Regions from separate parts of the Homo sapiens genome. Here region 1 is linked to region 2. Evidence: promoter capture Hi-C in 16 types of primary human blood cells and fetal thymus (Javierre and others, 2016). All regions are on one chromosome and are shown on one strand. Each heading gives the region's core, a stretch centred on a gene start or on the middle of the fragment in contact. The rest is flanking DNA. Distances are from core to core; before and after follow the strand shown.

The links. The method cuts DNA at HindIII sites, captures the fragments that hold promoters and counts their contacts. A CHiCAGO score of 5 or more calls a contact.
Region 1: a contact is called between a fragment that was not itself captured here and the fragment with the promoter of TAGAP in region 2, in 2 of 17 cell types (total B cells and naive B cells). The highest score is 7.7, in total B cells.

Annotation. Positions count from the first base shown.
Region 1 is chr6:159,078,290-159,081,540 of GRCh38, reverse strand. The region is part of intron 3 of LOC112267968; the gene reads left to right. Among named protein-coding and RNA genes, the nearest start is that of TAGAP, 35 kb to the right of the region's middle. The HindIII fragment of the contact is 3,396 bases long and covers 1-3,251 here.
Region 2 is chr6:159,043,659-159,047,016 of GRCh38, reverse strand. It overlaps TAGAP (T cell activation RhoGTPase activating protein), which reads left to right and starts at 2,026. Exons shown (of 10, transcript NM_054114.5): 1 at 2,026-2,138; 2 at 2,813-2,897; 3 at 2,986-3,039. The coding sequence starts at 2,871. The HindIII fragment of the contact is 8,846 bases long and covers 1-2,273 here.

The sequences.
Region 1 (3,251 bases), core at 437-2,936, 35 kb before region 2:
TCCTCACCTATGAAATACGGAAAATAGAGCTCACTTATAGAGCATTACTAAAGATTTGATGTTAATGGGTCAAGTCCTTGATGCTCAACAAATATTAGTTATTTTCCTTAAATGTTGATTTAAAAACTGAAATGGACTGAATTTTCAGGATAGTGTGAGGATGTAATTACTTGTAATTACTTCTAAATTCCTATAAGTTCTTTTTCTGGGTTTTTTTTGTGTTTTTTTTTTTTTTTTTTTTTAATGGACTCTCGCTGTGTCACCCAGGCTGGAGTGCAGTGGCGCAATCTCAGCTCACTGCAAGTTCCACCTACCGGGTTCATGCCATTCACCTGCCTCAGCCACCCCAGCAGCTGGGACTACAGGCGCCTGCCACCAAGCCCGGCTACATTTTTTGTATTTTTAGTAGAGAGGGGTTTCACCATGTTAGCCAGGATGGTCTCAATCTCCTAACCTCGTGATCCACCCGCACCCGCCTTGGCCTCCCAAAGTGCTGGGATTACAGGCGTGAGCCACCATGCCTGGCCTTGTTTTTTGGTTTGTTTTTTTTTTTGTTTTTTTTGTTTTTTTTTTTTTGTTTTTTTTTTTTAAGGATGTATATTCCCTTGTTCCAGATCTATTTTTTACAGTAACTCCTAATTGTAAGGATGATGGAAAGTTGGTTGTAAGGCAGATTAGCATGACTGCCTCACCACAGAGTGTGGGACCTAAGTGAGGGACTGGGGAAGACCAGACAGGAAGGAGGGCTCTGCTAAAAATAAAACAAAAAGACCCTCGTGGCTCTTCCTTCCTTTTGATGGGTATTGTTAGATTAACCCATAGAGCACAGACAGAAAGAAAGAAAGGGACTGGTCATTTCTCTAAACTCAGGGTGTGAGCTCCACAGTCCTTTCTGCAGAAGGGGAAGCCCCTGAGACCGTTCCTCTGCCAGGCCACCTTGCCCATTAGCAGATGTGCACAGTTACGTTACCCCAGTGTCAACAAAGCACAACTTCCAGTCTGTGCACAAAGTGGGACAGCCCCAGAGCTTGGTAGGAGGTGGAGGATGTGAGGAAGGTTATGGGCTATTTCAAGTTTCTTACAGACTAAGTGTCTCTTACATTGTGCTGTCAACACAAGAGCTAGAATGGACCCCTGCCTGGAGTTCACTTCTGACTGGAAGACCTGTGCTGTCATAGACCTTGGCCAACCTCTGTTTCATTAATCACAATGAAGGCTGCCCCACACCTCTGTCTCTAGAGAGAAGCTAAGTAAGGCAATTCTGCTGGGCCATGAGACTTCCTGTGTGCCTGCTGCTATGCCCAAATGCCACTACACGTGACTTTGGTCTCTTTGAATTAAATGATATAATAAAGAGCTAACATTTTATTCTGTGTTGCCTGTGGACCAGGTAGTAGACTAACATTTTCATATTATTTCTATAATTTGGTCCTCAGACCAACCTATCCTTGGTGTTTTTATTCTTAGCTTGAGGATCGAAACGCTGATGCGTGGGTTATCCCCTTGCCTCAAGTCACAGCATGAGTATGCAGTGAAGTTGGGATTTGAACCTGGATTTTCTTGTGCTTTAGACAGCTATGTGGGGGCCTCATAGTTCTGAGCCCAGATGTTTCAGTAGTTTATTTGGTCTAGGCTTTCTTGATATAGTGAAAAAAAATGCAAAACAAAATTTAAGGAAAAGTTATAAAATAAAACAATTGGTCCCAGGAGGCTATAACCCAATTTCACCAAGATATTCTAATTAAAGGAAGCATTTAAATTTGTCTCCTTCTTCCTCATTTTATAGCCCATATGTTAAATTATCCCAACTCTTGATGGTTCAAATATCCCAGAAGATATTTTCTCCATGAATTGTTCAGGGTTAAGATTTCCTCATTGCAGATCTCTGTTTATTTTTACTATATGCCAAATGTTTTTATTTTCTGCCAAACTGTTCTTCTCTGGAATGCTGTACTCTGTAACCAGGGAGAGACCCAGTGCAAGGCTGGGAGCGGCCGGGAGACAAAAAAAGGACAGCAGCTTTACATAATGTACCCCCTGTCATTTCGAACCTCCTCCACCACAGTTTCCACTGGGACTGGTTCTGCTTGCAGATTCATGCTAGAGACATGAATAATAGAAGTGAACAAATGAAACAGAGGAACTTAAAAACCCATCCACCTTTACTTAGGTAATAGCCACCCTGAAATCCTTTTTTTTTTTTTTTTTTGCTAAAGTGCAGTGGCGCAACCTTGGCTCACCACAACCTCTGCCTCCCAGGTTCAAGCGATTCTCCTGCCTCAGTCTCCTGAGTAGCTGAGAGCACAGGCACCCACCACCACACCCAGCTAATTTTTGTATTTTTAGTAGAGACAGGTTTTCACCATGTTGGCCAGGCTGGTCTCAAACTCCTTACCTCAAGTAAGCCATCTGCCTTGGCCTCCCAAAGTGCTGGAATTACAGGCATGAGCCACCACGCCCAGCCTGAAACTCCATTTTCAAGTATGCACCCACTAAGTCAAGACAGAGAGTCCCCTTTAGCATGAGATTGAGACAATGGGGCGAGGCAGAAGCCAAAATGTTCTCCTTTTCTTCCTTTGCCCAAATCCATTCAATGACCAAGACCATGTCATTCTAACCCATCCCCTCTGCCTCATCCCAGGCCCTCATCATCTCGCATCTGACTATTGCACCTGTCTCCTTACCTGCTCAGCCCATTTCATCCTTCATGCCACCACAGAGGAGTAGTGGCTTCAAGACTGATCTCATCTAGCACCCGCCTCACCTCACTCCCATCTCTTCCAATCCTCAATGGCAAACATCATCTCAATAAAACATCAGTAACATCACCTGCCTTCTTATGAAGCCCCTCCAGCTAGTGTGGCACTAAGAAGGTTTACTCTCTCCTACTTCCTCCCTCTCCTCCCATTGTGCAGGGAAATACTTGGAGTTTCCCAAACTCCCCACGCCTCCCATTCCTGGGTCACCTTGCTGAGTCTTCTCCAAGTCTCTTGCCCCTTTTTCTCCTCTTTGGGATAGCCCACTTCAGCGTCAATGTCACCATGTCATGGAAGTCCACTCCAGCTGCCGCAGGTAGAGTGAGTTGTTCCTTCCTCAAGGTTCCCACTGCCTTTGGCATTGCCTCCCTCTAATTGAGCCAGCCCAGGTGACTTCCAGATGGGGCAAACCTTATCCACCTTGGGCCCTCACCAGCAGGGTCTCAACAGAAGTTCGCTGGATAAATGAAGAAATGCTGAACCAATAGTAGTAGT
Region 2 (3,358 bases), core at 777-3,276:
GGGAGGCCAAGATGGGTGGATCACCTGAGGTCAGGATTTCCAGACCAGCCTGGCCAACATGGCGAAACCCCATCTCTACTAAAAATACAAAAATTAGCCAGGTATGGTGGCGCGTGCCTGTAATTCCAACTACTCAGGAGGTTGAGACAGGAGAATCACTTGAACCCAGGAGGCAGAGGTTGCAGTGAGCCGAGATCACGCCATTGCACTCCAGCCTGGGTGACAAGAGCGAAACTCCATCTCAAAAAAAAAAAAAAAGAAAGAACAGTAAGTACATTAAGTTTCTTACAAAAATTTGAAAAGTCCGTTTGTCGGGAAAAAAAAAAGTTTAGAAAATACATACTAGCAATGAATATACATCACATATATATTCTATGATATATAGAACATTATAGTAATATTCTATTTTGGCTATTTTATAAGGAAATGTATATATTCAGAAATTAGTTATTTAGTACCTACTATATGCCTAGCACTAGGCTGGGCACAGCGTAAATGCCCTTTTTCAATTAAAAAAATCAGTGAGTTCACTTTGGAGGTTTATAAAGGCAGGAGAGGGATGCTGAAAGAGTGGTGGCCTCTACAGCTGCCCTGGGAACACTGGGTGAACTCTGGCACTGTGGTGGCTTTCAGAGAGGGAGCCCCCAGCTGGAAGCCTGAAAACCAGGATCTGTCCCTAGGTCCCCACCGAGCCGCTAAGTTACAGAGCAAATTTCGACCTCTCTGTGCTTCGGTTTCCCAAAGTCTGCCCCATAATCACCTCCTTTCAGTAAAATGACAAAAGAACTGACAATGCGGAAAAGTCTTAAAATTAAAGATGCTGATGATAAATGAAGCCAAGTTATTTTAAAACTTTTTATTGAAAAATTACATAAATAGGGAAGTGTGCACATAAGCCTAGCACCACCCAGATCAAGAATGGACCATCACCAAGCCCCCCGCTGGCCCCTGGAAGTCATTACCATCCCCTCTGGGAAACTGCTACTCTTGCTTCCAACAGCACAGACGACTTTTGCTAATTTTGTGCTTTGCATTAATGGGAGCCGGCAGGATATACACTTTCACGTCTGGCTTCTTTTGCTCAGCGTCATATTATGAGATCCAACCATATTGTTGGCTATAGTCATAGGCTGTTCATTATCAGTGCTATACAACATTCATTCCCTATGTGAATGGATCACAATTTATGCATCCATTCTCGTGTCGAGGCATTTGAGTGGTTTCATATATAGCCCTTGATCTACAGAAAAGATCAGAAATTCTCTTATGCAGAAGAGTGATCCACAAATGAAATTCACCATCTCTTTCCTACTTTAAGTTGGTCTGATCAAAGGAATTTTTTTGTTTGTTTTCCTTCCGTGTCAGAACGACAGCTGCTCTGACTGTAAATTAAGTATCAATACTTTTGACCAGGAGTTACAGAAAGGAGGAGGGGGTTACTATATTGACAACTGACTCGAGGGAGTTTTCTTTCTACTTCCAAAGGAAACTAACCTGGCTTTGGACGGTGATTGTTCCTCAAGGAAGGGACTGTCTTGGGTTTCTTTCTGGTTCTGTAACAGTGTCCCACATCCAGGGGTGCTAATCAACGTGTGGTGCTGGTGGACAGAGCAGATGGCACGTGGGAGGGGAAAGAGCACCCAAACAGGATGCAAAAAGAGGCACTTGAAATTACCACTTTAGAAAATAAAGTGATGTTTATGCACAGAATAACACAATTTCTTGTTCACACATCCCACCTATGACATTAATCAGAGCCTTCACCTATGGGCTGAATGTCATGTTTTCCACTCCTAGTAGTTTACAGATTTTTTACTTTGAAGTGGAAGACACAAAAAAAAAAAAAAAAAAAAAAAAAAAAAAAGACATAGCTGCCCTAAAAGGAATGAGGAAGCGAGAGCTCTCCAGTGTCTGGCTGGCTCCGTCCGTGTGACAGCCCATGATGTTCTTTCCGGTCTCTGTAATATTCTGAATTTCCACCTGCCCGCCCCTTCGCTTATAATGCAGAGCATGTGAAGGGAGACCGGCTCGGTCTCTCTCTCTCCCAGTGGACTAGAAGGAGCAGAGAGTTATGCTGTTTCTCCCATTCTTTACAGCTCACCGGATGTAAAAGAACTCTGGCTAGAGACCCTCCAAGGGTAAGTACACTATATATTAACATGCCTAGAAATTACAAGCTGCCTCGCAAGTCACAGGTCACTCAGATCACAGGCAACAGAAAACAGCTATCCCGTGGAATATGCTCTCACTTTATAAAGTCTCAGGACAAAGCTTTGCTTCAACGTGAAGGCTGCACCTTTTTGGTGTAGGAGTTCTGTAAATGTTATCTTTGTTTCATGTTTACTATTTTAGCATCCTAGGGATATGTTTTTTTTTTTTTCCTTTTTGGATTAGATGAGAAAATCCATGCAAAGCACCTACTACGACAGCTGGCATATAGTCAGCACTCCACCAAAAAAGTTAATGTTCATGTTAATTTAAAATGTTAACGTAATTGATATCCAGATTATCTCTTGATGGAACGGAATAAATTGGTAACAACGTTTAGAGTGGTAAAGATAGTTGACTTAAATAATTTAGAAATAATTGTGTTCAGATGCTGCTCTTAACAACATACAACATCTGGTAACAGAACTGATTTTAAATGAAAACTTGTCTATGTAATAGTTTTTTCCAAAGTAAAGGCAAGTGAAAAAATAGCAAAAGAGAAAAATAAATAAATAGTTTCAAACTCTGTGCTTTGGCAAAGTGGCGCTGAAAGTGGCCTACTGTGTGAGTCCCTCCTAACTCCTTTCCATGTGATTCGTTGTAGACAGAGGCACAGCCACACGGGAGTGAAATCCACCCCTGGACAGTCAGCCGCAATACTGATGAAGCTGAGAAGCAGCCACAATGCTGTGAGTGCCCCTCTCACATTCATTCATTCACGTTTCCTACAGGCAAGGGCCAAAAGATATTTACCTAATTTTATTTTTTCTCTTTTAGTCAAAAACACTAAACGCCAATAATATGGAGACACTAATCGAATGTCAATCAGAGGTAAGAAAGCAATTTTTAAGACTTTTTATCTGTACTGTGAGAAGGTGGAAAACTTTGTTTTAATTGAATATTATTTGGGTTGAATAGTAATTATAAGAGTAGTAAACTAACATCACACATGTAGTAAATTAAGCACATTAATTAGGATCTTATATGATGACAATCAAGACCTTAATATTGCTTCTAGAAGCTAGAAAAAACATCAATGCACTCTACTGACTTCATTTTTAATATGAATAAAATGCTGTATGTGTGTTTTGTGGGGAAAGACTCGATAGGTTTCTTCAGTCACTATATTTAACTGAAATAAAAATGTTTT